Regions from separate parts of the Homo sapiens genome. Here region 1 is linked to region 2. The links are contacts of gene promoters, found by promoter capture Hi-C in human tissues and cell types (Jung and others, 2019). All regions are on one chromosome and are shown on one strand. Each heading gives the region's core, a stretch centred on a gene start or on the middle of the fragment in contact. The rest is flanking DNA. Distances are from core to core; before and after follow the strand shown. Region 1 overlaps GRIN2D (glutamate ionotropic receptor NMDA type subunit 2D). Region 2 holds the start of SPACA4 (sperm acrosome associated 4).

What was found. The method cuts DNA at HindIII sites, captures the fragments that hold promoters and counts their contacts. A contact is called where the count stands out against the background at its distance.
Region 1: a contact is called between a fragment that was not itself captured here and the fragment with the promoter of SPACA4 in region 2, in 1 of the 25 tissues and cell types used here (bladder).

Annotation. Positions count from the first base shown.
Region 1 is chr19:48,431,067-48,435,874 of GRCh38, reverse strand. All of the region lies in intron 11 of GRIN2D (glutamate ionotropic receptor NMDA type subunit 2D), which reads right to left. Among named protein-coding and RNA genes, the nearest start is that of GRWD1, 13 kb to the left of the region's middle. The HindIII fragment of the contact is 9,114 bases long and covers 1-4,808 here.
Region 2 is chr19:48,603,583-48,608,164 of GRCh38, reverse strand. It overlaps SPACA4 (sperm acrosome associated 4), which reads right to left and starts at 1,423. Exons shown (of 1, transcript NM_133498.3): 1 at 451-1,423. The coding sequence starts at 1,186. The coding sequence ends at 812. It overlaps FAM83E (family with sequence similarity 83 member E), which reads left to right. Exons shown (of 7, transcript NM_017708.4): 6 at 4,254-4,582. The HindIII fragment of the contact is 21,490 bases long and covers 1-4,582 here.

The DNA.
Region 1 (4,808 bases), core at 1,103-3,602, 170 kb after region 2:
CACGTCTCCCTTCACTGGAATTTAAGTTCCATGAGGCAGGGACTTTGCCCGTCTGATTCACCACTGTATCCACAGGGTCTAGAACAGTGCCTAGCACACACTAGGTGCTTACTAAGAAATGGCTGGACGGCTGGGTGTGGTGGCTCATGCTTCTAACCCCAGCACTTTGGGAGGCCGCCCGGGGCACGGATCTCCTGAGGTCGGGAGTTCATAACCAGCTTGGCCAACATAGTGAAACCCCATCTCTACTAAAAATACAAAAATTAGCCGGGTGTGGTGGCATGTGCCTGTAATCTCAGCCACTCGGGAGGCTGAGGCAGGAGAATTGCTTGAACCTCGAGCGGATCACCTGAGTTCAGAAGTTCATGACCAGCCTGGCCAACATGGCGAAACCCTGTTGCTACTAAAAATACAAAAATTAGTCAGGTGTGGTGGCACACGCCTGTAATCTCAGCTACTTGGGAGGCTGAGGCAGGAGAATTGTTTAAACCTGGGAGGCGGACGTTGCAGTGAGCTGAGATGGTGCCCGGGCAATGGAGCAAGAGCAAGACTCCGTCTCAAAAAAAAAAAAAAAAAAACAAGTGGCTGAATGGGCACTTAAAGGGTAGACAAGGTGAAGAGACAGAGGAAGACGGCAGCTTTTTACAAGCCAAGGAGGAAGGTCTGGAAGAGGTCCTCCCACAGCCCTCAAAAGGAGCCATCACTGCCGACACCTTGATTTTGACCTTCTAGCCTCTACAACTGTGGGGCGATACATTTCTGTTGTGTAAGCCACTCAGTCTATGGTATTTTGTTATGGCTGCCCTAGCGAATTAATAGAATTGTATATAGAAAAATCCCAAAGGATCCACAATAAAAATTATTATGGCTAATAGAAGTTCAACAAGGTTCATGATACAAGATCAATATACGAAATAAATTACAAAATATGTGAAATAAATTATATTCCTATATACTAGCAATGAACAATTAAAATGAAATTAAAACAATTCCAGGCTGGGTGCGGTGGCTCATGCCTATAATCCCAGCACTTTGGGAGGCTGAGGCCAGCAGATTCCTTGGGGTCAGGAGTTTGACACTGGCAAAAAAATAAAAAATAAAATAAAATAAAATATTTAGGAATAAATTTAACAAAAGTTCAGGTAGGGAGTGGTCACTCAAGCTTGTCATCCCATCGCTTTGGGAGGCCAAGGTGGGAGGATTGCTTGAGGCCAGGAGTTTGAGACCAGCCTGGGCAACATAGTGAGACCATCTGTAAAAAAAAAAATACAATTAAAAATTTTTAAAAAAGAAGTTCGAAAGAAAAGAAAAGAAGTGGGCCAGGCATGGTGGCTCACGCCTGTAATCCCAAGAACACTTTGGGAGGCTGAGGTGGGCGGATCATCTCAGGTCAGAAGTTCAAGACCAGCCTGGCCAATATGGTGAAACCCCATCTCTACTAAAAATAAAAAGAACTAGCTGGGTGTGGTTGCGTGTGCCTGTAGTTCCAGCTACTCGGGAGGCTGAGGCAGGAGAATCACTTGATCCCAGGAGGTGGAGGTTGCAGTGAGCTGAGATCACACCACTGCACTCCAGCCTGGGTGACAGAGCGAGACTGCATCTCAAAAGAAAATAGAAGAAGCGGCCGCCAGGCGCGGTGGCTTGTGCCTGTAATGCCAGCACTTTGGGAGGCGGAGGCAGGCGGATCACGAGGTCAGGAGATCTAAACCATCCTGGCTAACACGGTGAAACCCCGTCTCTACTAAAAAAATACAAAAAATTAGCTGGATGAGGTGGCGGGCGCCTGTAGTCCCAGCTACTCGGGAAGCTGAGGCAGGAGAATGGTATGAACCCGGGAGGCAGAGCCTGCAGTGAGCCGAGATCGCGCCACTGCACTCCAGCCTGGGCAACAGAGCGAGACTCCATCTCAAAAAAAAAAAAAAAGAAAAGAAGCGGCCAAATGAGTAAACTCAGACTGGTCCAAGGGAGGCCTTCCATGGCCCAGACACTGGAGCTGAGAAGTAGGATTCCATTAACACAGAAAAGATGCCAAAAGGGCTTTCTCCGTGGAAAAAGGCAAGATGAGAACAGTGTGTACTGTTAGTTTGGAATGTGTGAGTGTGAATGCATCCATATTTTAATTGATCCAAAAGAAAAAAAAATAATGCTTACATTACGGAAAGGGGCCTTGATATTTCCTTTTTTGCCCCTCTTGAGTGAGTGAGAAATTGCACATCTCTCATGGAAAGGGCACCAAGAACTGGCTGGGAGGAGAAGCTGTGTTTCTCTATTTCTTTTTAGGACGTGCATTTCCTTTCTCCCCCTGTGGGGTTACTTGCCGGAAGCGGTAGGGTGAGCCCACGTTTGGCCTGCGAGCCGGCCAGAGCCCTGGGAGCTGCCTCTCCCTTGTGCCTCACTGTAAAGATGGAATTTTCTAGTGCTGTCCTCTATGGCAACCACTAGCTCGCCACATATGGCTATTTGCATTTAAATTTTATTTATTTATTCTTTATTTTCTATTTTTATTTTTGAGATAGAGTTATGCTATTGTTGCCCAGGCTGGAGTGCAATGTGCTGGTCTCAGCTCACTGCAACCTCCACCTCCCGGGTTCAAGCGATTCTGCCTCAGCCTCCCGAGTAGCTGGGATTACAGGCGCCCACCATCATGCCCGGCTAATTTTTGTATTTTTAGTAGAGATGGGGTTTCACCATGTTGGTCAGGCTGGTCTTGAACTCCTGACCTCAGGCAATCCGCCCTTCTCGTCCTCCCAAAGTGCTGGGATTACAGGTGTGAGCCATTGCACCTGTATTGCAGGTGGTGTCACGCCTGTAATCCCAGCACTTTGGGAGGCTGAGGTGGGTGGATCATTTGAGGTCAGGAGTTCAAGACCAGCCTGGCCAACATGGTGAAACCCCACCTCTACTGAAAATACAAAAATTAGCTGGGCATGGTTGCGGGCGCCTGTAGAACCAGCTACTCGGGAGGCTGAGGCAGGAGAATCACTTGAACCCGGGAGGTGGAGGTTGCAGTGAGCAGAGATCGTGCCACTGCACTCCAGCCTGGGTGACAGAGCAAGACTCTGTCTCAAAAAAAAGCAAAATGAAATAAAAAAAAAAAAAAAGAAAGTCCAGTTTCTGGCCAGGCATGGTGCCTCACACCTGTAATCCTAACACTTTTGGAGGCCAAGGTGGTAGGATCGCTTGATCCTAGGAGTTCAAGAGCAGCCTGGGCAACATAGTGAGACCCCCGTCTCTACACGAAAGTGGCACACACCTGTAGTCCAAGCTACTCGGGAGGCTGAGGCGAGAGGATTGCTTGAGCCCAGGATGTCAAGGCTGCAGTGAGCTATGATTGCCTCACTGCACTCTAGCCTGGGGAACAGAGTGAGACCCTGTCTCTAAACATAAATAAATAAACAAACAGAGAAATGAAGGAGAGGGAGATATTGTACATAAAAGAATTTAAGAAAATTCAAGAAATTTTCTCAGAACAAATGACATGAGAATACGATTGAAAGACCCAGCAACGGAAACAGATCAATGGCCATGCGCATGGCTCATGCCTGTAATCCCAGCATTTTGGGAAGCCAAGGCAGGAGGATCGCTTGAGCCCAGGAGTTCAAGACCAGCCTGGAAAACATAATGAGAACCTGCCTCTAAAAAAAAAAAAAAAGAAAGAAAAAGAAGGCCGGGTGCGGTGGCTCACGCCTGTAATCCCAGCACTTTGGGAGGCTGAGGCAGGCGGATCACAAGGTCAGGAGATCGAGACCATCCTGGCCAACACGGTGAAACCCCGTCTCTACTAAAAATACAAAAATTAGCTGGGCTTGGTGGTGGGCACCTGTAGTCCAGCTACTCGGTAGGCTGAGGCAGGAGAATGGCTTGAACCCGGGAGGCAGAGGTTGCAGTAAGCCAAGATCACGCCACTGCACTTCAGCCTGGTGACAGAGCAAGACTCTGTCTCAAAAAAATAAAAAATAAAGAAAAGATAAAAGAAAAGAAAGGAAAGCAGGCCGGGCGCGGTGGCACACACCTATAATCCCAGCACTTTGGGAGGCTGGGGCGGGTGGATCACCTGAGGTCAGAAGTTTGCAACCAGCCTGACTAACATGGTGAAACCCCATCTCTACTAAATACAAAGAAATTAGCTGGGCATGGTGCCACATGCCTGTAATCGGAGCTGCTTGGGAGGCTGAGACAGGAGAATTGCTTGTACCTGGGAGGTGGAGGTTGCAGTGAGCTGAGATCGTGCCATTGCACTCCAGCCTGGGCAACAAGAGTGAAACTCCGTCTCAAAAAAAAAAAAAAAAGGGAAACAGATCAAGGCATGTCACTGATAAATGTCAGTCCACCAAGGACAAGGAAAAGAAACAACAGGTTACATACAAAGGCATAGGAATCAGAATGATCTTGGATTTCTCTACAGTAGCACTGGATATTAGAAAACAATAGAGTGACTCTTCCAAATTCTGAAGGAAAATGAGCTCTAATGCAGAATTCTATACCCAGCCTGACTGTCCATCAAGTACAAGGACAGAAAAAAAGACTTTTCAGATTTGCAATGTCTCCAAAAATATACCCGCTATGTGCCTCTGTCAGGAAGCTCAAAAGAACAAGGAAGCAAAACCCAGAAAGAGTTAGAATTTGTGCTACAACAGGATCCAAACCAGAGATGAAGGGATGAAGGTGAAAGGTGATCCCAAGATGGCGGCTATGCCCAGGCTGGAGCAGGCCAGAAGGCCATAAGAGCAACTTCTTCAATAAGATGAAATTGACAAGGCCAGGCACAGTGGCTCACACCTGTAATCCCAGCACTTGGGAGGCCGAGG
Region 2 (4,582 bases), core at 174-2,673:
GCACTCCAGCCTGGGCAGCAGAGCAAAACCCTGTTTCAAAAAGAAAAAGAGAGAACAATACACAGCTTTTGGACCCCACTGCCATTCATCGTGCCTGGAACAGGACCTGAGAATCTGCATTTTCAGGAAGTTCCCACTTGCTGCTGCTGCTGTTTCTGGTCCAGGGACCACACTTTGAGAATGATTGGAGTTGAGACCAGGATGTTTGAAATGTTTGAAAGAGTGTTTACCTTCCCAGCTTGGTGTGAGGATTCAGTGGCACGTAACGTAAGACAGGCTTGGCCAGGTGCCGTGGCTCATACCTGTAATCCCAGCACTTTGGGAGGCTGAGGTGGGAGGATCACTTGAGCCCAAGAATCCGAGACCACCCTGGGCAACATAGCTGGACCTTATCTCTACAAAAAGAAAAAAAAAAAAAGGAAAAGAAAAAGAAAAGAAAACAAAGAATGCTCCATGAACATCAGCTGTCATTTATTATGATATATATATATTTTTTACCATATTTCATGGACTCTAAAGTGCTACCAATGGAGAGAAGCATCCTGATTGAGATGTGAGAAGCTCTGCGTCTTAGAACCAGTGGAACAGAGTAATACAATCAAACCCACGGGCCGTGCTCCCCTGCCGCTCAGTCAGGCCTGGGGATGCTTCCCCTAGCACCGGGCTCCTGGTGGACAGCCTTAGAAGGGATGAAGCCAGGGCCGCAAGAGGTTGTCCAGGGCCTCTCTGGCCATTTAGTGGGGGAAGGACATGGGGACATGGGGAGTGGCGGATCTGGGAGAACAGTCCCAGGCCCTGTCCTCCCTGTTGGTCACAGCAAACGTGGAGGAAGCAGCATACCCAGCCCCAGTGCCAGGCTGGTGGTGGCCCCCACTGTCTGGCTGCTCGGGGCTCTGTTACACAGGCGGCCGGTGCAGCAGTTGGTGGTGAGGCTGTAGGTGACGCCCCTGTAGCTGACGGGTTCCTCAAGGCCGCAGCTGGTGGCTCGCAGGCAGCCTTTGTTGATGACCGGACCAGTGCCCGGGGCGACCCCGTGGCCTGTGAAGCAGTCCTCGTCATCGCCACAGTGCATGTAGGTACCAGGACACTGCATGGAGTCGGTGAGCTCACAGAAGACGCAGTCCTTGACGCCCGTCGTGCCTGGGGGCAGAGCCATCACCAGAAGCAGCAGCCAGCACAGGACCATGGCGGCCTGGCGGCGTTGACCCTGCCCCAGCCAGGCCGTGGGCTTCCCAGACCTCCCGGAACCGCTGAATGAAGGACCTCTGAGGACTCCTCTTGCCCACGGGACTTTGGCCCTGGTCCTGGCCTCCCAGGGTCAGCGCCTGGAGTGTCCTCTGTTCCCAACGCCCTGCGTCCCTCTAAGTCCTGGGGATGGAGGTGAGCGGGTGGCTGCTGCCCAACAAGAGTCTGTGAATGGAATGAGTGATCTCACAGATCCCTCAGGGTTCCCACTGGCCGCTCTGGGGATGAGGTCATAGGTGAGAGGAGTGGGTGTCACAATCCAAGGGGTGGCCTGCCCCGCCGACCTGCCGGGGCGCAAGAGGGCTCTGCCATCCCTGCCAAGGTGAAGACGCCCTGAACCCAGAGGACGCTGGCCACAAGCTTGTCCGCATTCTCTGTGCTGTACACCCGCCAAGGGCTTGACTTCAGCCTCACACCTCCCATAGTGACCCCATATTCCAGATGGGTAAACTAAGGCTGGGGAAAGTGATGTATCCAGGGTCCCCGAGCCAGGATGAGAGCCAGGTTCATTGAATTCCAAAGAGGCTGGGAAAGAAGAGGGTGTATTAACTGAGCACTTGCTGTGTGCCAGGATTCATGCTCAGTGCTTGCTTGCTTTTATTTTTTTGAGACGGAGTCTCTCACTCTGTCACCCAGGCTGGAGTGCAGTGGCGTGATCTCAGCTCACTGCAGCTTCTGCTTCCCAGCTTCAAGCGATTCTCGTAACTCAGCCTCCCGAGTGGCTGGGACTGCAGGCGCATGCAACCACATCTGGCTAATTTTTGTATTTTTAGTAGAGACAGGGTTTCACCATGTAGGCCAGGCTGGTTGCGAACTCTTGAGCTCAAGTGATCTGCCCGCCTCGACCTCCCAAAGTGCTGGGATTACAGACGTGAGCCACCACACCACGCCTGGCACTTGGTGCTTTCAATAACAACTACTGTGATGACAGGAAGTGTTAGGGCACCGGCCCCCACAGCTCACAGGCTCTCAGGGCCAGCTACGTGCAGGGGGCTTGATTCAAATTCAGTCATTTGAATATTCCTATGTTGTATTTATTTCTTAATTTTATTTTTTATTTTAAAAAATTGGCCGGGCGCAGTGGCTCACGCCTGTAATCCCAGCACTTTGGGAGGCCGAGGCGGGTGGATCACCTGAGCTCAGGAGTTCAAGACCAGCATGGCCAACGTGGTAAAACCCCATCTCTACTAAAAATACAAAAATTTGCTGGGCATGGTGGTGTGCACCTGTAATCCCAGCTACTTGGGAGGCTTGAACCTGGGAGGTGGAGGTTGCAGTGAGCCAATATTGTGCCACTGCACTTGAGCCTAGGCAATAGAGCAAGACTCCATCTCAAAAAAAAAAAAAAATAGGATCTTGCTCTGTTGCCTAGACTGGAGTGCAGTGGCGCGATCTTGGCTCACTGCAGCCTCAACTTCCCAGGCTCAAGTGATTCTCCTCCCTGAGCCTCCAGAGTAGCTGGGACTATAGGCGTGCACCACCATGCCCGGCTAATTTTGTAAAATTTTTTATAGAGATGGGGTCTTGCTATGTTGCCCAGGCTGGTCTCAAACTCCTAGCCTCAAGTGATCCTCCTGCCTCGGCCTCCCAAAGTGCTGGGATTACAGGCATGAGCCACTGCACACGGCCTTCCTAGGTTTTTGCTCCAGATTGCAGATGAGCACTGCAGGGAGCAGCAACGTGGAGAGCTTGGTGCACAGCCAGGACTGACTAAATGGCAGTCATTCTAGGAAGCAGCTGGGTCTTAAAACAATCCCTGTTAGTGTCCGGAAGTGAATTCCGTCTCTTTCCAAAGGGGAAAACTGAGGCATTGAGGTGTTCCTAAGTGGGGACCAGGCAGAGCCTGGGTTTAAACTCCAGTCTGATTCCAGATAAGTTTTTTTTTTTTTTTTTTTTTTTTGAGTCAGAGTCTCGCTCTGTCGCCCAGGTTGGAGTGCAGTGGTGTGATTTCAGCTCACTGCAACCTCCACCTCCCGGGTTCAAGCAATTCTCCTGCCTCAGCCTCCTGAGTAGCTGGAATTACAGGCATGTGCCACCATACCCAGCTAATTTCTGTATTTTTAGTAGAGATGGGGTTTCACCATGTTGGTCAGGCTGATCTCAAACTCCTGACCTCATGATCTGCCCGCCTCAGCCTCCCAAAGTGCTGGGATTACAGGAGTGAGCCACCGCATCTGGCTTTTTTTTTTTTGGGAGGGGGGCGAGGGGGACAGGGTCTTGCTTTGCTGCCCAGGCTGGAATGCAGTGGTATTATCACGGCTCACTGCAGCCTCAATTTCCCAGGCTCAGCCGGGCACGGGTGGCTCACACCTGTAATCCCAGCACTTTGGGAGGCCGAGGCGGGTGGATCACCTGAGGTCAGGGGTTCGAGACCAGCCTGGCCAATGTGGTGAAACCCCATCTCTACTAAAAATACAAAAAATTAGCCGGGCATGGCGGCAGGTGCCTGTAATCCCAACTACTCAGGAGGCTGAGGCAGGAGAATTGCTTGAAGCCAGGAGGCAGAGGTTGCAGTGAGCCGAGATCATGCCACTACACTCCAGCCTGGGCAAAAAGAGCGAAACTCCGTCTCACAAAAAAAAAAAAAAAAAAAAAAATCCCAGGGTCAAGGGATCCTCCCGCCTCAGTCTCCCAAGTGGCTGGGAGTACAGGTGTGCGCCACCACACCTGGCTAGTTTTTTTGATTTTTTGTAGAGATAGGGTCTCACCATGTTGCCCAGGCTGGTCTGAAACTCCTGGGCTCAAGCAACCCTCCTGCCTCAGCCTCCCAAAGTGTGAGTCACCACACCTGGCCCTGATTATATAAGTGTCTTAACTTGGGCTGTCTTCACTCCACCCCTCCCGAGTAGGTACTTCAGTTGTGCCCATTCTACAGACAGGGAAGCTGAGGCTGGAGAGGTCAGGACTCGCCTGAGGTCCTACGGTCTCCCCTGGGACCTGGCTGAGGATGGGGGCCGGGCTGGGCCCTCAGGGTTGGAGACTCTGACCCCCTACTCCCCGACCCCCAGCTTCACGTGGAGTGACGCACGCCTGCACCGAGGCCTGGTGACCCTGCTGACTGGTGAAATTGTTGACGCCTTCAGCCTTGAGTTCCGGACGCTGTACGCGGCCTCCTGCCCGCTCCCACCTGCGCCCCCCCAGAAACCCTCGGTCATAGGTGGCCTGCAGCGGGGCCGCAGCCCGCACCGCGTGTCCCGCCGCCGCTCCGTGGCCCCCGCGTCGCCTCCGCCGCCTGACGGCCCGCTGGCCCACCGCCTGGCCGCCTGCCGCGTCTCCCCTGCTACCCCGGGGCCGGCACTCAGTGACATTCTAAGGAGTGTGCAGCGCGCCCGGACCC